6 separate regions of the Homo sapiens genome follow, and all the other regions are linked to region 3. The links are contacts of gene promoters, found by promoter capture Hi-C in blood cells and fetal thymus (Javierre and others, 2016). All regions are on one chromosome and are shown on one strand. The core of a region is centred on a gene start or on the middle of the fragment in contact, and the rest is flanking DNA. Distances in the headings are between cores, read along the strand shown. Region 1 overlaps CENPK (centromere protein K). Region 2 overlaps SGTB (small glutamine rich tetratricopeptide repeat co-chaperone beta). Region 3 holds the start of TAF9 (TATA-box binding protein associated factor 9). Region 4 holds the start of UTP15 (UTP15 small subunit processome component). Region 5 holds the start of SREK1 (splicing regulatory glutamic acid and lysine rich protein 1). Region 6 holds the start of TNPO1 (transportin 1).

Region 1 (3,386 bases), core at 31-2,530, 3.8 Mb after region 3:
CACTGTCTACCTCCTTAAAATTGCCCAGTTTTGAATCTTATGCCACCAGACTCTAATCCTCTTCCATTCTTTGCAGGAATCATCTAGCAAGATTGTTTTACTCACCCTCATTCCTTGAAGATTTTTAGCTCCTGGCTCATTGCCCTTTGCAGTACTACTATCATAATTCTTAGTGATTTTAATATCCTTATAGATGATCCAATAACTTGGCCTCTCTTTTTCTTGACCTTCTTTCCCCTAGTGATTATGTTCTCTCTTGTCTTAGCTACTTATTCCTATGGCCATTCTTTCACTTTGTCCCTGTCTGTACCTGTGGTGCTACACCATAGAAGAAAACATACAACCATGCTCTGGTTTTACTTTAAACTCATGATACTAATCTCAGGTGAGCCTGTAATGCTACTACTGAATAATCCTGTAACTTTATCCTCTCCCATTTTTTTATATATCTGTTTTATACATCTCTTTTCCTGTGCTCTTAAACTCGCAGTACTTTCTTCCCATCCTTTCATAGCTGATAACCGTAGTTACCATTTTACGGAGAAAAGAGAAACAATCCACATAGAATTTCTACAAGTTCCTAGCAACACGTCTACTTACCTACCTGCATCTACACTCTTGATATTCTGATGACCCTCCCATTAAAATGGATGAACTGCATGTCCATTTATCTTAAGCCAACACCTCTACTTATGTACTAGATCCCATTCTTTCTTCTCCCCTTTCTCTCTTGTATTAGCAACATTTCCTTCTTTTACTGTACCGTATAAAGATGCTATATTTTCTCCCATCTTTAAAAAAGAAAAAGTCTCTTTTAACCCTATATCTCCCTCCAGCTACTAACTGTATTTCTCTCTTGTGCTTTAAAGAAAAAAAAATGTGTGTGTGTGTGTTTTCTTTTTGTTTGTTTTGTTTGTTTGTTTTTGGTATGGTCTTAACGGTCTTGCTTTGTCACCCAGGGTGGAGTGCAGTTGTGTGATTGTGGCTCACTGCAGCCTCAGTCTCCTGGGTTCACCGGGCTCAAGTGATCCTCTCACCTCAGCTCCTGAATACCTTGGAATACAGGCATGTGCTGCCATGCCTGGCTAGAGAAAACGTTCTTGAAAACGTTTCATATACTTAATATTTTTAATTCCTTGCCTTCCATTCTTTCTTGAATCCACTCCAATCAGATTTTTATTCTTGCCATTCTTCTAAAACTACTCCTATGAAGGTTATCTGTGGCCTTCATTTTTGTATGTTTACTCCAAGAAAATTGTTGTGATAAATTACCCCAGAATGTAGAGGTGTAAAACAACTATTTATTACGCTCATGAGTTTTGTGCATTAGAAATTCAGACAAGACACAGCAGGAGCAGCTTCTCTGTTCCACAGTATCTGGAGCCTTGGCTAGAAGATCAAAGCCTAGGGGCTTAATTGTCAGAAATGATCGTGTGTATGTCTGGGAGTTGATACCAGCGTTTGTCTGGGAACCTCAGTTCCTTTCCTCATGGACTTTATGTTGATCTCTTCCTTTTGTGCTACTTTGGGCTTTCGCATAACATGGTGCCTGGGTTGCAAGGGTGAGTGTTCCAAGACACAGAAAGCCAGAAGTTAGCTATATTGCCTTTTATGACTTAGTCTTGAAAGTCATGTGGTGTCATTTTCATTGTATTCTCTTTATAAAGACAGCCACAAAGTCACACTCAGTTTCAGGGGGAGAGGAAAAAGACTCTGTCTCTTGATGGGGAATGATGAAATATTGCTGTGAGTATTTTTAGAAAAAACAGTTTGCTCCTCTATATTACTAAATAAATTGTCAATTCTCTGTAATTTACTTGACCTGTCTCCAGTGTTTGACAGTTATCATTCCTTCCTTGAATACATTCTTGGATTTCAGGGTATCATGCTCTTGATTTTCCTCTTAACTTACTGAGTGCTCCTTCTCAGACTATTCAGTTGGTTCTTACCTCAATAGCTCCTGGCCTGAAGATCTTCTCATTTCTAGCTGCACACTCTTCCTTTTCTTATTTCACCTATCCTCACAACTGTAAGTACAGTCATGTGTCACTTAACAACGGGGATATGTGTTGAGAAATGCATTGTTAGATGATTTCATCATGTGAGCACAAACCTAGATGGTATAACCTACTACATACCTAGGCTGAATACCGTAGGTAATTGTAACAGAATGGTATTTTTGTATTTAAACATTTCTAAACATAGAAACGGTACAGTAAAAAAAATGGTATGAAAGACAAAAAGTGGAACACCTGTCTAGGGCTTTTACCATGAATGTAGCTTATAGGACTAGAAGTTGCTCTAGATGAGTCAGTGAGTTGTGAGAAGATATGAAGGCCTAGGACATTACTGTACCCTACTGTAGACTTTGTAAATACTGTACACTTAGGCTATACTAAATTTATTTTTTTAATTATTCAATAATAAATTAACCTTAGCTTGCTGTAAGTTTTTTGCTTTATCTTTTTAATTTTTTAACATATCAACTCTTTCATAAAAACAGCTTAAAACATAAACATGTTGTATAACTGTGCAACAATATTTTCTTTCTTTTTTTATTTTCTAATTTAGAGACAGAGTTTGTCTCTGTCACCCAGGCTGAAATGCAGTGGTGTGATCATAGCTTACTATAACCTTGAACTCCTGGACTCAAGCGATCTTCCTGCCCCTGCCTCCTGAGCAGCTTGGGCTACAGGACTGGGCCACCTCACCCAGCTAATTTTTAAAATTTTTTTATAGAGATAGGGGTCTTACTTTGTTGCCAGGCTGTTCTGGAACTCCTGAACTCAAGTGATCCTACGACCTTGGCCTCCCAAAGTGTTGTGATTACAGGTGTGAGTCACTGCACCTGGCATATTTTATGTCTTTTTTTCTAGCTAATTTATTTATTTTTATTTTTTACTTTTTTAATTTCTTTGTTAAGAACGAAGACACAAACACATTAGCCTAGGCCTAAGGCAAGGTCAGGATCATCAAGACATCAGTAGGCAATAGGAATTTTTCAGCTCCATTGGAACCACTGTTATATGTGCAGTCTGTGATTGACCAAAATGTCATTATGTAGTGTGTAAGTCTTATCTGTGTGATGATGGCTGTCAAATTCATATTGCTAGCTCAAAACTTTGCTTTCAACTGCAGACATGTATATCTAATTGCTTAATCAGCAGCTCCAATAATTGACACCTCAAATGTAGCATATCCTAAACTGAGTTTTTAATCAGCACTTCTCCCATGTTTGCCAAATCTGTTTCTTTTACCATCTTTCTCACCTCAGTAACTGGCAACGTAATAATTCACTTCTCTCTGACAGTCCATATACATGCTGTTAAGAAATTCTGTTGGCTCCATCTTGAAAATATATCCAGAATGGGACATTCTGTGCTGCT
Region 2 (3,110 bases), core at 525-3,024, 3.7 Mb after region 3:
TTCTATAATTTCAACAAGCATTTCCCTGTGAATATGCTTTTAGGAGGTGGAGATGAAAATTGGGCATTTGCTCTAAACCTCCTTGCAGTCTGGTTAGTTGATGTCTTTCCAGGTGGCAGTGAGAGGAGCAGGTGATGCACAGTTGGAGAACATTGCAATCAGTCCATTTAATATTAAGGTCTTTTTGTTCTCCTTGATGATTAGACTATGTGAAAATAAAGTTGATTGGTTATCTAAGGAGAATGTTAGTTATGATTGCTCTGTAGCAAACAGATAAATGCAGTCATTTAAGAAAAGATGTTTCTTTTCTAATCAAAAGCAGCATAAAAGTTTTAAGGGCCAGAAAGAAAATTGAGGGTTTTTTTTTCAAACCAAGATGTTATGTCCTATTTTTAGGATGGTATTCAGCCAAAAATATGTGCCTTCAGCTGTTTGTTATATATGGCAGTCAGAAAGGGTGCCAATTGTTTTTGACTGACCCCTATTTTTGACTCTGTGAGTCTAATTTAATTGAACATGAAATCATGTGGAGGTGTCTGCCCACCTTCTAGACATTTTTAAAAGCCCTAGGAAAGAAGCCTCAGTTCTAATACCAGCTTTACCACTACTGTGAAGCTGGTATATCATCAGCTTTGTCTTGCCATCAGATTATGTCACCCACTCCTCTTAATTATTGTCATCTACTGACATTTGCTTCATTCCTTGACTAATTGTGGTTCCTGCTCACTGTCACTCTCTCTAGCACTACTCCTATTTAGTTCTTGGCAATTGCAATATACTGATTGATGATTATTTTAGTTCCCTGGCTCTCAGTTATTGACCTCATCCAGTGATCTCAAACACTTGATCATATTCTAGATCAGTGGTTCTCAACTTGGGGGTGATTTTGCAATATCTGGATACATTCTGATTGTCACAACTGGGTGAGGCGGGTGGCTGGTATTATTGGCATCTAGTGAGTAGGTAGAGGCCATGGATGCTGCTAATGCACAGGACAGCCCCTGACAAGAAGAAATTACCTGATCCAAAATGTCAGTATGCGGAGATTGAGAAAGCCTTCCCTAGACTTAATCATTACCAGAATTGCATTCCTTCCCTAATCTCTATCCCAAACATTTCACTTCCTGACCACTATTGCCTGTCTTTCCAAGATTACTCCCTCTAGAATCCCTACTCCAGCTATTCTTTGACCCAACCAGTACCTCCAATCTGTTCATGCCTCACCTTTCCCCACACCTCTTCTTACTCATCTTAAATTCCATGGTTGATAATTATAATTATTCCCTTGTATCTCCTTCCCTTTCTTGCAAAGCCCAACTTTGTTTAAATCCAACTCTCCACCTACTTTGTGCCCAACTACTCACACCCACTCATGTAGCCGTAAATAAATGGAGCAAAACACACAACTTTGCTGACTAGTCCCACTTTAAATTCATGACTGTGAACTTCAAGTAGACCTTTAATGCTGTCAGGCAATCACAGTATCTGTTCTAAGTTCATTCATACATTTATTTTCCTAGATGACCATTTTAACACTTTCTCATATCTTCTCAAACCCTCAAACCTCCTTCACTGTCCTCACTTTTAGTTGGTTACCTTGCTTTCTACTCCACCAAGAAAGCTGAAATAATAAGAAAATAGCTGGATATGATGGCACCCACATACTCGGCCTGCCTGCCTGTTTGACTAGCTATTACCATAGATGGACTATTCATGTTCCTTTCTAAATGGAACCCCTCTACTGGTATACTAGATCCCATCCTGTCTCACCTACTCCAGGATATCACTTTAGTTATTTTATTTTTTTAATCTTACATCATAAAATTTTCATACCCTACTGGATCATTTCCATCATCATATAAACTTACCATTATTCTCCCTTCTTCAAAAAAGCAAAAACAAACAGCAAATAATTACTGCTTAATTGTATGTCTCCCTTTGCAGCAAAACCATTTGAAAGAATGGTCTATACTTGCTTTCTCCAACTCCTCTCCTTCTATTCTTCTTAAACCCATTCTGATTAAGCCTTTGCCTCAATCTCTCAATCTATACCACTCTCATCAAGGACATTAGTGATTTCTGTGTTGTTTAATTTAATGGTCAGTTCTCAGCTTTCATCTGAGTTATTAGCTGTCATTGATAATGTTGATGGTCATTTCCTCATGAAATGACCCCCACCACCCCCAGTATATTTTATTTAGTTTCCAGGATACCTCATACTTTCTTGGCTTTCTTATCTCATTGTTTGCTTCTTTTCTGTCCCCTTTTCTGGTTCCTCTTCTTTTCCCTGACCTGGTGTACCCAGGGTCCACTGCTTGATCCTCTTCTTTTCATTATCTATACCCATTTCTTTGGTGATATCATTCGGCTTCTTAGCCTTAAATACCCCTTATTTATATGCTATTTCCCAAATTTATGCCCTCAGCCCAGACCTTTCTTCTGAAGGTCTTATATATCCAAGTACCTACTAGATATCTCCACTTGCATGTCTAATAGGCATCCCAAATTTAACATGGCCAAAACCGAACTTCTGATTCCCCCACCCAAAATCTGTTCTGTATGCAATTTCCCAATCTCTGTTTATGTCAGCGTCATCTTTTCTGTTGCTCAGGCCAGAAACTTGGGTATCATTCTGGACTCTTCTCTTTCTCAAATACCCTGTAACTAATCATTCAATAAATCCTGTTGGCTACACTTTCAAAATATGTCTAGATTTGACATCTCTTATACCACCTCTGGACTGAACTATTTCTTGACTGTTTTAGTGTGATAGCCTCTAACTGGTCTCTCTGCTTCTATTCTTGCCCCTCCATTGGCTGTTCCAAACACAGGCACCAGTGATCTTTACAAACAGAGTATGTGAGTTTCTATCATTTATCTACTCAAAACATTGTTTAAAGGATCTATATAATTTGACTTCTGTGACATATTGTTCACCTACTCCTCCCCTTTCTCATTTGGCTTCAGCCATTATTAGCTTTCTCTTTATAAATGTACCATATCCTCTTGCCTAAGGGCTTTTGCTCTGGCTGGTTCCTCTGCCTGGAATGGTCTTCACAGATAATGCTAACACCCCCGTCTCCTTTAAGTCTTTGTCAAATCTCTTTTCT
Region 3 (3,414 bases), core at 1-2,500:
TGTTCAGCCCTCCGCCCCAAATCGTTCACGATTAGAGACTGTGACGTTTCAAAAGGTATACAGGTGGAAAAAAAACACCTATTTGAGTAAATATAGTTTGTAGCTCGAAATAAAAGATGCAGACCAGGGGCCGGACGCGGTGGCTCATGCCTGTAATCCCAGCACCGTGGGAGGACGAGGCGGGCGGATCATCTGAGGTCAGGAGTTTGAGACCAGCCTGGCCAAAACATGGTGAAACCCCGTCTCTATTAAAAATGCAAAAATTAGCCGGGCGTGGTGGTGGGCGCCTGTAATCCCAGCTACTCTGGAGGCTAAGGCAGGAGAATCACTTGAACCCAGGAGGCGGAGGTTGCACTCCAGCCTGGGCGACAAGAGTGAGACTCCGTCTCAAAACAAAACAAAAACAAACAAACAAACAAAAAAAGGTGCAGACTGTTGTCACGGTCAGGTCTCTATTCACTCTTGAAAACAAGATTGACAATTACCTCCTTTAAAAAGCAGATAACTGTCCCTGAAGATGCGAGGTTACTGAAATGAGATGTCAGAGGTAGACCTTCAAGACTATTCCTAGCCGACCCACCACCACCCCACACAGTGAACAGGGAATACTAAGCTCAAATATTCGTCCAACGTAATCCTGTAATCAGTGGGGTGCCGGGTTGAGCTCGCAAATCCCCGCTGCAGGACAGGGCTCTGCACCCTCAATCTTCTCATCCCCAGATGGGATGGGCGGGTCGGGAGGAGGAGCGACGAGAGCCCAGGAAAGCTTGAAGGCAGAGATAGACTCACGTCTCTAAGACATATACATAATATAGCCGCAACCGCGGCGGCCTTACTTTCCCGGAGCTGCATCCCCTTTTAGGCGAAGAGCGGAGGCGACCAGGGACTACCCTAGGTGAAAGGGCAGCCACCTGGCCCTACCCGGGCTCAACGCCGAGCCTCTCGGAGGTACGGCCTCCCGGGGACCTTCCAGACTGGTCGGCGCAAGCGAAGGGCGGGGACCACCGAAGGAGTGTGTGACTTAGGCATCCAGCGCACTGCCTGACCCGAAGTACCGACCCGAGTTATGCCCACCCTCCAACTTTGCGACGGAAATGTGTCATCGAAAGCCAGGTAACCAGTGGGCCGCGGCTGGGCCGCCGGGGCAGGCTAGGGGCGCCGCGGTGGGCTTCGGGGCCTTTGGGGCCGTGGGCTTTTGCTGCCGCCCGCCCCTTCCGGCTCCTCCCTGTAGAGCAAAGGGCACGTGAGCGAGGCGCCCGAAGCCGTCGCGGCGGGGACCATGTTGCTTCCGAACATCCTGCTCACCGGTCAGGGCGCGCGGCCGGGAGGGACTGGGCTGGGGCAGGCTGGGGGCGCAGAGTGCTCTGGGCATCGGGCGCCCAGGTGGGGGCCCCTCACTGCCCTCTTCAGAGGCCGGCCGAGGGCCACGAGGCGGTTGTCAGCGCCCCGGGAGCCGACCCTCGCGGGCGTTGCGGGAGGCGAGGGAGGGGACGCGGAACGTTAATTCCGTTGGCCTGAGGCTCCGGGGGGGGGCGGGGGGGGGTGGAGAGAGGTCGGCAGATCCAGCTCTCCAGCTTGGCAACCTGCTTAGTCTTTCTGAATCTGGTATTTCGTTTGTAAAATGGGTTGTTGATTCTTTGGCAGGGTTGGCCTTGGGATTTTTAGCGAAATAACGTAAGGCCATATCTGCTTCCCGGTAGAGTCATTAATGGTGGATGCCTCACTCCTTAGGCCTCCGTGGGCCGTATTTTATTTTTTCTTTGCTTCTGATAAACGCCTCAGATTAGATTTCGGTAAACGAGTTCAGATGTTTGTGACGTGACGAAATTGCTGTATGCTTTTGTTGAGTTACATCAAAGGATCCCCCCGCCCCTTAAAAGGAAGGCATATAGAGCATTTCGGGTCGTTTCTCGCGTAGGAGTGGGTCTTTGAAGCCATACTCAGGGTGCATGTTATCAGTGAAGGGAATTAAAATGCTGCATAACGACTTTAACGAATATTTTTGCTAGCCGTTTAGTCCTGAAAGTGTTTATCAAATTGTAGGCCATTCGTGGAAAAATCTAATGCATGTAGATTTTATTGCAAGGTACAGAAAAATTAAGACTCTTTGTGGGAACAGTAAAGTTACATCATTCACCCAAAGGTAAAATTGTTGGCAGCGCACAAGACATGTCTGTTTCTGAGAGGTGCAGATTAACCACCCCACAAATAACGTTTAGAATTTTAGATTCCTTAAGCGGAAGATTTTACATCTTTTTGCATGGATCAAACATAGTGCCCTGGTTATTAAGTCATTGTCAAAACTTTAAAGTGAACATTTTATTGAAAACATGTTGAGTCCAGGGTTCAGACTTGGTGTATTATAGTGGACTTGAGGTGACCGTTATTCTCCTGGGTATGGGAACTGGATTATCCCTGTTATCTTTATGCTTAAGTTTAATTTCAGGGATGTTAAATCTGAATAGCTGAAAATTATGAATTTGATGATCTTGAAATGTAATTTTAATAGGTATCAGAAGGGGAAGGTAAAGAACAATGTATATAGTATTGTCATTTATGTAAAAGGGAATATGTGTTGTATTTATATAACAAAGAGTATGTACATATATGTACATTTACATGCAAACATAAATAGGGTTTCTTTGGGAAAGGAAACTGGTTTACAGTGGTTATCTCTAGGGAAGGGCGCAAGGGGTCAGTAGAGGTAATTTTCAGACTGCTTAATTTTAACATGAACAGTTTTGTTTTTGTTCTTGTTTTTGTTTTTGTTTGAGACAGAGTCTCATTATGTTGGCCAGGCTGGTCTCGAACTCCTGCGCTTAAGCGATCCTCCCGCCTTCTCCTCCCAAATTGCTGGGATTACACGCGCGAGCCACCACACGTGGCCATGAACAGTTTTTAAATCTTTATAAGTTAAAGCAAATAGGCCAGGTGGGTGGCTCATGCCTGTAAATCCCAGCACTTTGGGAGGTGGAGGTGGGGAGATCGCTTGAGCTCAGGAGTTTGAGCTTAGCCTAAGCAACATAGCCAAACCCCGTCTCTACAAAAATTAACCAGGGCATGGTGGTGCATACCTGTGGTCCTAGCTACCGGACAGGCTGAGATGGGAGGATTGCTTGAGCCCAGGAGGTAAAGGCTCTAGTGAGCCAAGTTCCACTGCACTCCAGCCTAGGTAACAAAGAGATATCTTGTCTTTAAAAAAAGAAAAAGGTAAATAAATTATTGTAATTGATTCGAGGTGGCTAATTTTTTTTTTTTTTTTTTTGAGATGGAGTCTCTGTCGCCAGGCTGGAGTGCTGTGGCGCGATCTTGGCTCACTGCATCCTACAACTACCTGGTTCAAGGGATTCTCCTGCCTCAGCCTCCTGAGTAGCTGGGATTACAGGCACGCGCCACCACGCCCGGCTAATTTTT
Region 4 (3,125 bases), core at 178-2,677, 4.2 Mb before region 3:
TAAATGTGAATCTACAAGATGAAAAACAGTATTTCACCAGATGGCTCAAGATCAGTAGTAAACTATACAAAAGAAAAATAAAGAAATTTAATATTATACTTACTCTTGAGGAAGCTGTGACAGCATAATTATATGGAGGCTGAGGAGAAAAGTCTACTTTTGAAACTGCACCAAATTCCTTAATCTGAACAGGGGTCTTAATAAAAAATAATAGTGTGTTAACAGAGTTACCACTGGTAAGACCTATTTATGCATTACATAATTTCTTACAGACCGTTTCTCTTTGTTCTTAGTAACATTTCTTAAGTTGTATTTAACATAAAATTACAAAGAAAGCAAAAAAGGTACATATCTCATCACCCAGACTATTCTTGTTGCCACTGAAATAAACATATGGTTAGAAAGCCACACCCCACTCTGTCTCTTCAGCTATTGAGTTTACTGTGATTTCTACCAGAAAAAAAAAGTTATCATGTCTACACCAGCATACAATAACCACGTACTTGTACTTTTAAAATAACAAAAAGATAATCATACCATGTAGGCTGTTCCACATCTTGCTTCTTTTCACTTAGTAACACATATTAGCTTTCATAGGAGCAATAGACTTACCATCCATTATAAGGGCACACTGTAATTTACTATACCAGTCCACTACTAATAGACATGGGTTTTTCAAGATTTCTACTATTACAAGCAATACTTCAATAAACATCTTTACACATATGAGATTCAAATTTTAAAATTTAATTCATTTGGCATTGATTGATCATCTGTTCTGTGCTAGGCATTTGTATGGTTAATCTGATTAAGCAGTATGGACTTTTACATAAAATTCCAAGAAAAAATAGATATCAAATTATCTGCCCAAACTATAAGCTGCTGATAGATGGTTTTCAGTTAATAATTCTCTGTTAGAGCATCCAGAGTATAACATATGCTAGAGAAATTGGCATAAACACAAATCCCTTCTCCCTCATTACGTCCCACACTCACCTTATAGTTGTTCCAGTACAGTGTATCTTGGGTGATTTTTTCACCAAGTATAGGATATGTCTGAATAGCTACAGGCTTATAACCAGCCATAATTCCATATAATTGCACTATTGTCCAAGAGTCACTATTTTGGAATTGGTATTAGAAATAATTACAGTGACTCTGCCTTAATTCTGAAAAATAAAATATTTTATATACATATTATAAGCTTGTACACATAGTTGATTTTCACTCTGCTTTCTTTAAAAAGTCTGTGTGGAAGTATATAGATTAGAGACCAATAAGCCATTTAATTCTAACCCAGAAAAGGCAATCTATAGGAAGCAGGAATAATTAAAGTGAAGGCTATCATATCGCACCATCTATTCAGCTGTACACAAAGGTTCTCACACCTAGCCAACCATTTTACAACACTTAGGAATAAATCTAGCACAGCCTTACAGTAGCCAAACCAAAAAGGATCATGCTGGCTTTGAGTGTCCATTTTTTGGCAACAGGAAATATTAAGGTGAAACTGCAAATACAAGTTTCCTGAAACCAAGTTTAAGATGACATTTAATCTATAACAATTATAGTTACGGATTTGATTTCCTGAAAGCCTAAAAATGCCAAGAAGTAAGAAACACAAAGCTAATATTCTAATGTAGAAGCTTAAAATTAAATTTACTTTAAAAGGTTTAAACAGTAGGAAAGAAAACTGTAATAAAGCAGTCCTGAAATTAAATTCAACACTAAAGTGGCAGAATAGGATAAAACTTTTAAATAACATGCAATCAAGCCAAAACATTTTTCCAGAACGACTCAATTGCAAAAGAGATTCAATGTTATCAGGTAAATGATTCCAGAGGTGCTGCTCATCATCTATTCCAAAAAGCCTGAAAACTTTACATTAGTAACACCACGATAAATAGGTGTAACATATATTTAAAAGGTGCTTTAATGAAATACAATGACCAATGATTGTATTTCACTGGTCTTTGGGAACACTCTTCTGTTCATTAAAGTACCTACCAATGTGCAGGACACTGCTCTAGGCACTGGGGCTATAATGGTGAATGAAATAAAGACATGGTCTGTGCCTTTGCTTACTCCAATATACTCCATTTTGGCTGGTGACTGGCACCAGATATTAACCTAGACTCAGCCTTGACGTGTCCTTTTCTTCCTCACTCCTAACATCCAAATAGTTAACAAGATCTGCTGATTTTATCTCCCAAATATTTTAAAACTCCATTAGGTTCACTTCACCTGAGGGAGCCTCGTAAGCAAAGGCAAAGATGGAAATGTGTCCATTGCCTTGGAGAGTTGCTGATTACTCCGGGAACTAACAACGGTGGACAGGAAAGGGTGTAATCGCAGAGAAGAACCTAGGTCGAAGCTTAATTGAGGGGAACTTGAGCCGGTTAAAGAATTTGGCCACTCTCCTATATAGCCTGGGAAGCCCCAGAAGAGCATGCCAGATTAACACAGGAAGGCCGGGTGTGAGTGTGGGCTTCCCTCAATGGGAGCCGCCTTCACCTACCTCCACTGAGCCCCAAAGGGTCCGACGAGACACCTCGACCCAAGGACAATTAATCGGACTGTGCCAGCTCCCTACCCTGCACAGTTCAGCAGCACTGGCGTAAAAATCACATGGACCCTCAAGGAGCCGGCGACACACACAGCGAACCGAACGTCGCGCGAAGATGACGTACCAGAGCACGCTCATGAGACTCACGCAGCCCGGCGGCGCAGAGGCGGGTCAGGTGGGCGGGGCGATCTGGAGTAGGAGGTGTGACCGGAGGGCGAAATTGGGGCTTCCTCTGCTCTGGTGACCCAGAACCGTCAACTGAAATGACCCTGTCTGTGTAGTACTCCGGCAGGATGGGCCTCGGAGCGTAAAGGCGGCAAAAACAAAAATATTAAAAAAAAGGAGAGAGGGACAAAAAAAAGAAAACCCGAAAGTTTCAGCTGCATTGCTGCGGAACGTTTTTTAGCCAGAAGGCGAAAGAAGAAATCGGAAGTGACGTCGCGGCCAAAACAAGCCCGGGCTTGGAGGCCTGTACTGAAGCTGGCCTCAGATGGGAAGGCCCGACTCGCTGTCTGCTGTCGTCGGTGGTCGCGAGACCTTGCACTCTCACCGGGTCGGC
Region 5 (3,278 bases), core at 253-2,752, 3.2 Mb after region 3:
ACAGTGTTATCTAATTACATACTAGATCAAAAGCAGACAAAAAAGCATTATTAAAATAACTGGGGAAATTTTAATAATCAACTGTAGCCAAAAACAGACAAAATGCTCGTAAAAGGAACATGGATGTTCAATGTATTACTCTTTCAACTTTTCTGTATGCATGAAATATTCCAAAACAAAAAGCAGAGAAGAAAAACTTAAAAAGTAAATTTTAAATATCCACACAACTTTTATATAGTTATGCAACAGCACTGTTATAACCTGAGATAGAAAACTAAAGAAAAATAGGTCTAAATGCATCACTAGGAAATAAATCAAAATTTTTTTAAAGAAATAAATCTTGGGTAACAATTACCCCTTCCCTCAAAGGATTTTGATATAATGAACAAAAAACGGAGGATCTTAATACTGTAAGATCTACCATTAAAAAAGAAAAAAAGTTTGTGTGCAAGAATGTGAACAACCTACAAACCCCTTGCGAGTTTTCTAAATAATATCGTACGAGGGAAATTTTACCATTCCAAAATACACTATCTGGGAAGTGGCCGCGAGCTGTGAATGCCAGCCAAGATCTGGACTTTAAATGTATACGGGAGGGATAACCCTGCACCGACTTACACTTTTTCTGAAAGCTTTGGGACAGTGTGACCTTTCAGGAGGAAAATTTAATCTGCTGTCAAAAGGGCTAACAGACATGATCTTTGGGAACATGGATGCGCTCGGTTAGATAAACCAAAATGCTAAGTTTGTGCGACCGTCCTGGGAAACAAACACAGCCCCAGTTCCATCTTGTCACCAGCAGCAGGCTTTCTCGTCAGCAAAACGGCCTGACACCAAGGCCTTAAAAACTGGACTGTGGCTCAGGCGCGGTCTCCGCGATTTTCAGAGTGGAAAAACGCTCTGAGACGTTTGCCATGAGGGCTGTTCCGGGCCCACCTGCGGCCATCTTAAGTTCGGGGGGAAATAAGAGGGTGGGGGCACGGAATTCGAAGACCCAGCAGCGAACACAAGTCCCGGAGGCACAGAAAGGGCAACCATTCTAAATCCTTGGTAAGGGCTCCGTGCAGTAGTTAACCCCCCAAATCCGACTAAGGAGAGCAGGACGGCGGAACCCGGGTGCCCTAATCAAATATGGGCACCAAGGTAAGCCGGCGCGATCACGTGACATGCACCGCGCGCCCGCGTCCGCGCTCTCCTCCACGCCTCGGCTCCCGAGGTCTCTATGGCGCCCGCGCCCCTCCCCCAGCCGAGCTCCAGCACTTACTCCGGGGGGTAGAGCCGCAGCTCCTCGATTTCTCCTAGGAAGGAAAAAAGCGTCCGCATCTGCTCGCTGGTCACCGCCGACGACAGATTCGTCACCTGAATCACCGACGTGGGGGTGAGGCCGAAGCCTAAGCCCAAACCGAAGCCGCCGCCGCTGTTCATCCCGATCCCGCTGCCGTTGCCTTCCCGCTCCCCAACGTCTACGACGCGTCAGCGACGGAGCCGGGAAAGCGGAGAACGCGCGGCCGCGAGCGCGCTCCCGCTGGCGAATTCACAGCGCCGGGCAGATCTAGCCGCCCATTTCACAACTCCCCTGCTCCCGGGGCTGCGCGCGCCAGCCGGAAGCGTCGCCCCGGCAACCCGGCGGTTCTCGCGCGGCTGCGGCCTCCAGCTCCCGGGTCCCTGGGGCTGTTGCTGCTCGTTTCACCGCCTGGATTTTTATCGGTGTTTTTGTTTTCCCCAAAAGTCGATGAGAGTCTTGTGCTCATGTCTACCCGGTTCCTTCCGGTCTCGGATTGGGAAACCAAGCGGCCTGGCCTACTGGTGCGGGACTGTAAAGAAGGAATGACTCTTGGACAACACGGAAGAACACTTGACCAAACTATAGGGCAGCCTTATCACATACAGGCAGCACCCCAACTCCAACTATTTTTAAAAGTTGGCAGGCGTCCTAATTGTGAAAAAAACAAAATTTTACAAAATGCGTAGGTTCAGGTTGAATTAAGGAAAGAGGCAGTAAGATGAAGGCTGTGCAGGGGTTGTTTATAACCTGTTTTTAATTCCCTCGTTCCACAGGTGTTGATGTTTATTGAGTGCTATGTCCCAGGCACTATTAGGCAAGGGCACGTAACAGACAGTTAAAGACAGTTCACATAGAACTTGCAACCTAATGAGAGACAACAGTAGTGAGTCCATGGCAGCTGCTCCCAAAATGCCCTCCGCAGATCCCTAAGGGTACCGAGACCTTTTCAGTAAGTTGGCAAGGTCAAAACGATTTTCGTAATAATATTAAGAGTTTCTTGACCTTTTTCACTTTGTTGCCATTTGCACTGGTAACGTAAAAGATTAAACTGCTGACACCTTAGCAGCAATCAAGGCAGTGGCGCCAGTCTTGTACTGGTAGTTGCATTTTGTATTCTTCACATCATACAACATTTAAGGTTTTAAAGTATGCTAGTTTCACTTTAAAAATGTCCTTCACAAATAACTAAAAATTGTATTTTTTTTTCAAATCCATCCTTGCTTACACGTCTTTTAAAGAATATGTGTGAAAAAATGGAAACTACTGCCGCTACATGCCCAAGTGAAATGGTTGTCTCCGGAAAAAGCACTAGTGTAATTCTTTGAATTTTCACCTAAAAATACAAATTTTATTACACTTGTATCCACCAGCTTGAGCTTGACAGCTTGCCAGTACTTAAAGACTTTTCTAGTAAAAGAAGCATTATATTAACAATTTATTTTTGACTATATAATGAAATATGTCAACATTTTTGTGATCTTTACAACTTAGTGGACACCTATTTTTCAAATGGCCAGTGGGTGCCATTACAAAGGCAAAAAGCCTCTGGTATGTGCAAGATAGATTGATGGATTTCAGTGCTTAATTGATGTGGTTTCAGATTCAGTCCACACTGCAATGAAGGCTAAGAAACTACCACATGTAAGTTTGGTACCGTATCAAAGAATAATATCTAGAACTATCTGGAAAGGCTATAAAGTAGTTTTCCCTTTTCCAACACCTTATCTTTATGAGATCAGATTTCCCTCATATATTTCAACCAAAACATATCACAACAGATCGAATACACAGAAAACTCATGATCACAAAGAAGGAAACGTCAGTCACTGTGGTCTACTTGAGGGTGGAGGGTGGAAGGAGGGAGAGGAGCAGAAAAAATTATTGAGCACTGGGCTTAATACCTGGATGATGAAATAATCTGTACAACAAACCCCCATGACATGAATTTATCTATGTAACAAACCTTCACATGTACCCCTGGACCTACAATAAA
Region 6 (3,186 bases), core at 234-2,733, 3.4 Mb before region 3:
AACACTAGTACTTCATTAGGCTCACGTTAAATTGCATGAAGTAAAAATCGTACTGCCAAGCTAGTATAAATTTATGCACTGCATAGCTAGAGACTAAAAAAGATATCTGCACCTACAAACTATTGTTTCCCTTTTGTGGTTGCTAATTTTCATCCTGGCACAGCCTTCTCTAGGAACAACTACGGTGCCAGGTAAGGTGAAAGTGGAAAACAGATCCTTTCCCAAAAAACGGAACTTTCCCCTTTTCCACTAAACATAGCTTCTTCACCACTCTAACATGAAAGCTTTGATATAACAGGGAAACTTAAAAAGCTGCAGGAACTTTTGTTATTCTAAAAGTGAGTAGTACGTCAGGACAGCCATTTTACAACCTTCATTTCCAAACACCTATTACACCATACATCTTGCAATTTTAAAAGTATCTTTTCTTTAGGGTAAAAAAAGTACCACTTACACATTCATCATTTAAGTCATTACTGTTTCAAAGGACAGTTATTAAGCTTCTTAATACAGCTGTCAAAATCAATTTGTAGATAGCCTCCAATTTCAAATTTCTACATTTACATCTACTGATAGACCATCCTGATTAGCGATTAAGATAACAGACTTAAACTCTAAGCAATCCTTGCAAAATCCAGTTGATTTTTAAAATCAGTAAGCAACACGCGATCATTTTTAAAGAAAGTCATTCCGAAAATAGCTTGATTGTGGTGGCCAATCTGCTCCTCAGCAGCTGTTCCCTGTTGCTTGTACGCATGGGAGTGGAGGTAGAAGGGCAAAACCCACAAGCCCACGCAAAACTCGTACAGTCACAAACATTATGTAAACATGTCGTGAGGCCAAGAGGCCCCAAGGAGAAAGAACCGCCGGGAGGAAGAGAACGGCAAGCTGCATGTAAGGACGATGGGCGCTGTGTGCGGACGCAGGAGACCCGGGCAGAGGGGCCCAGGGCGGGACAAAGACTGGCCCATCTCGGGCAGCGCCGGCCAGCGCCCAGAACCAGTGAAAGGCAGCCGTCCCGGGGCAGCCGACTGCAGCACTCAAGGGCCCTCAAACGCCACAGCTTAACAGGCGAGGCAAACGCTCCCCTGAATGTAAGACCCTTCCCTTCCCGCCCCTTGTAACGGGCTCCTGCCGCCCCTAACGGGATCCTCGGACGCTTGAGGAGCCGCCGTCGCCTGCTCCCTACCCGGGTCCCGCAGGGCGCCTGGGCGGGCAGCTGTTGGGGTTAGAACCGCGCCGCCGCTGCCTCTCGGCTTCAAACGGCCGGGCAGGCGCCGAGAGAGCGGGCGAGCCCGGCGTCTCTCCCGTAGGCGCGTCAGGCAGCTCGGCGCTCCCAGCCTCCGTTCCCGCCCCTGCAGTTCGGGGCCGCGCACCCTCACGCCACCTACCCGGTCCCACACCATCCCAGACGCCTCGGGCGCTCGGGCCTTCGGCCGAAGCGGCACTGCCTCCTGTCCGGGGCCTGAAATGGCTGCGGAACAAAGAGAATCTGGGCTTCACCGAGCGCCGGTCCGATTGGCCGGGGGGCGGAGCCCGCGGCGGGAACATTCGGCGGCGGTCGCCTTGGCAACGGCGGCGGGGCTAGGAAAATTGCTGCCTGGGTCGGCTGGGCCTGTGGGCCTGCGTCCGACAGCGCGCGGCCGTGCTTTCTAAGCGGGCTCGGCAGCACCAGACTTCACCGGCCCGGCGCGGGGCTCACAAGTGCTCGCACTCCCTGCGGCCGGCGCGCTGACCGGAGCCTCTGGGTCTCGCACGCAGCAGCTGCAGACGCTGCCCGGCGCGGTGGGGCTGTGAGCAAAACGGCCCGCCGGTGTGGTTGCCCAGACTGTGCTGGGCCCTCCTAGGTGGATGGCCCTGCCCCAGCCTAACTTCTGTACCCCAGCATAACCTCCAAAGTAACAGCCGTGCCCTGGGAGCCTGTTCAACACTGAACATATCCCACAATAACACTGTTCCAGCGTCGCTGGTAAAAAGCAGAAATGGCTTCGGTAGGTAGACGCCGGTGGATGGCTGCCCGCTTAGAACAAGATAGGCTTTTGACGTATGTTGTATCTGGCGTATAAACTACTATGTAATTAGAATTCAGTGATTTATAAAATGTTTACGCCTCCAGGTGTTCAATCCTATAAAACTGTAGTTTCTTGCTCTTAGAAATAACAAGCCTTTCTCTCCCTAACCTGCCATCATGAGAAATTAAAATGTCCTGTATTTTCTGTACGGCAAATGATTCAAAATGGGAGTGGTGGACGTTTTTATACCCAACTGCAACAAGGGTAATGAGATAAATATCAGTTTCCTTCCCTCAGATTATTCTTATATGTAAAATTTACTGTATAAAAATACTTAAAATTTGCATAGCTAGCTGATTTTTATTTTCTAAGGTGATGATGCCCGTGATAATATTCCTCACATGATCAGTGTGAGTAGAAATACCAGCAGTTCCGACTATCTTACTGGAAGTGCTGTATATATTTTGAAAATGTGTGACAGTTGTTGCCTTCCTGTCATAGTTTAGGTAAAATTACAGTACATAATACTAGAAAATGTCTAAATTTTTACTAAGGTAATTTATTTGTTCTTCTAAACGTGTTAACAATTTTCATTTGAATTACAGTCATTTTGCAGGAACAACTAGTTTATTTAACTTAAAATTTGAGACTAAAAGTACCATTTTTTAATCATTGGGAAATTGAACTTAGCAAGGGAAAATATAGATAACTAAAATATTCATGATTTCAACATGTTATAATATTAATTTGATAGTAATTGGATACAGTAGTGTATATCAAAAAGAGCCCCCCCCCCCAAATAGGAGTAGATTACCAAGAAAAAAATGTAATATAAACTTTTCTGAATGGTAGTTTATCTGCAGGAAAATATACCCAGAAAAAGTATATTTATCCAAATAACAAATGGCTTATTTCTGCATTTGAAAAGTTACATCGTGGACTAGGATCTATACAAATCAGAAGATGTGTAGTATTTGCATTCTACTTTGCTAAAGGAAAAAACACAAATATTTCTAAAATCCAAAAGATTAGCAAATAATGACAGATGTAAATACTACTGACTAAGCAATTAGTAGGAGTTCACTTGATTAATAGTTTGGAAATAGCTGAAATGAATTGAAGAAAAAGTAACATATTATTTAGCATAAGAGGATTTATTGGCCAAAACATTTTG

The links. Contacts are between HindIII fragments. The CHiCAGO score rates a contact against its expected background, and 5 or more counts as called.
Region 1: a contact is called between a fragment that was not itself captured here and the fragment with the promoter of TAF9 in region 3, in 1 of 17 cell types (fetal thymus). The highest score is 7.9, in fetal thymus.
Region 2: a contact is called between a fragment that was not itself captured here and the fragment with the promoter of TAF9 in region 3, in 1 of 17 cell types (neutrophils). The highest score is 6.4, in neutrophils.
Region 4: a contact is called between a fragment that was not itself captured here and the fragment with the promoter of TAF9 in region 3, in 3 of 17 cell types (total B cells, total CD4 T cells and non-activated CD4 T cells). The highest score is 7.5, in total B cells.
Region 5: the fragment with the promoter of SREK1 here is called in contact with the fragment with the promoter of TAF9 in region 3 in 2 of 17 cell types (fetal thymus and total B cells); the score reaches 6.9 in fetal thymus.
Region 6: a contact is called between the fragment with the promoter of TNPO1 here and the fragment with the promoter of TAF9 in region 3, in 1 of 17 cell types (total B cells). The highest score is 5.6, in total B cells.

The regions. Positions count from the first base shown.
Region 1 is chr5:65,555,659-65,559,044 of GRCh38, reverse strand. The region is part of intron 2 of CENPK (centromere protein K); the gene reads left to right. Among named protein-coding and RNA genes, the nearest start is that of CENPK, 5.8 kb to the left of the region's middle. The HindIII fragment of the contact is 8,637 bases long and covers 1-3,386 here.
Region 2 is chr5:65,716,113-65,719,222 of GRCh38, reverse strand. The region is part of intron 2 of SGTB (small glutamine rich tetratricopeptide repeat co-chaperone beta); the gene reads left to right. Among named protein-coding and RNA genes, the nearest start is that of SGTB, 4.4 kb to the left of the region's middle. The HindIII fragment of the contact is 6,188 bases long and covers 1-3,110 here.
Region 3 is chr5:69,367,356-69,370,769 of GRCh38, reverse strand. TAF9 (TATA-box binding protein associated factor 9) reads left to right here and starts at 1,250. Exons shown (of 3, transcript NM_003187.5): 1 at 1,250-1,307. It overlaps AK6 (adenylate kinase 6), which reads left to right and starts at 1,250. Exons shown (of 5, transcript NM_016283.5): 1 at 1,250-1,307. The coding sequence starts at 1,280. It overlaps RAD17 (RAD17 checkpoint clamp loader component), which reads right to left and starts at 952. Exons shown (of 19, transcript NM_133338.3): 1 at 837-952. RefSeq lists an enhancer at 149-698. The HindIII fragment of the contact is 4,867 bases long and covers 769-3,414 here.
Region 4 is chr5:73,565,306-73,568,430 of GRCh38, reverse strand. It overlaps UTP15 (UTP15 small subunit processome component), which reads right to left and starts at 2,688. Exons shown (of 13, transcript NM_032175.4): 1 at 2,519-2,688; 2 at 997-1,169; 3 at 104-196; 4 at 1-11. The coding sequence starts at 1,086. ANKRA2 (ankyrin repeat family A member 2) reads left to right here and starts at 2,792. Exons shown (of 9, transcript NM_023039.5): 1 at 2,792-3,125. RefSeq lists enhancers at 2,423-2,977, 2,549-3,108, 3,119-3,125, 2,978-3,125. The HindIII fragment of the contact is 442 bases long and covers 1,207-1,648 here.
Region 5 is chr5:66,142,524-66,145,801 of GRCh38, reverse strand. SREK1 (splicing regulatory glutamic acid and lysine rich protein 1) reads right to left here and starts at 1,502. Exons shown (of 12, transcript NM_001077199.3): 1 at 1,265-1,502. The coding sequence starts at 1,425. RefSeq lists enhancers at 762-811, 872-931, 1,192-1,471 and a silencer at 1,652-1,721. The HindIII fragment of the contact is 9,482 bases long and covers 635-3,278 here.
Region 6 is chr5:72,814,958-72,818,143 of GRCh38, reverse strand. TNPO1 (transportin 1) reads right to left here and starts at 1,483. Exons shown (of 25, transcript NM_002270.4): 1 at 1,392-1,483. The coding sequence starts at 1,406. TNPO1-DT (TNPO1 divergent transcript) reads left to right here and starts at 1,596. Exons shown (of 9, transcript NR_186518.1): 1 at 1,596-1,991. RefSeq lists enhancers at 707-756, 1,837-1,916 and silencers at 1,217-1,436, 1,477-1,576. The HindIII fragment of the contact is 3,194 bases long and covers 503-3,186 here.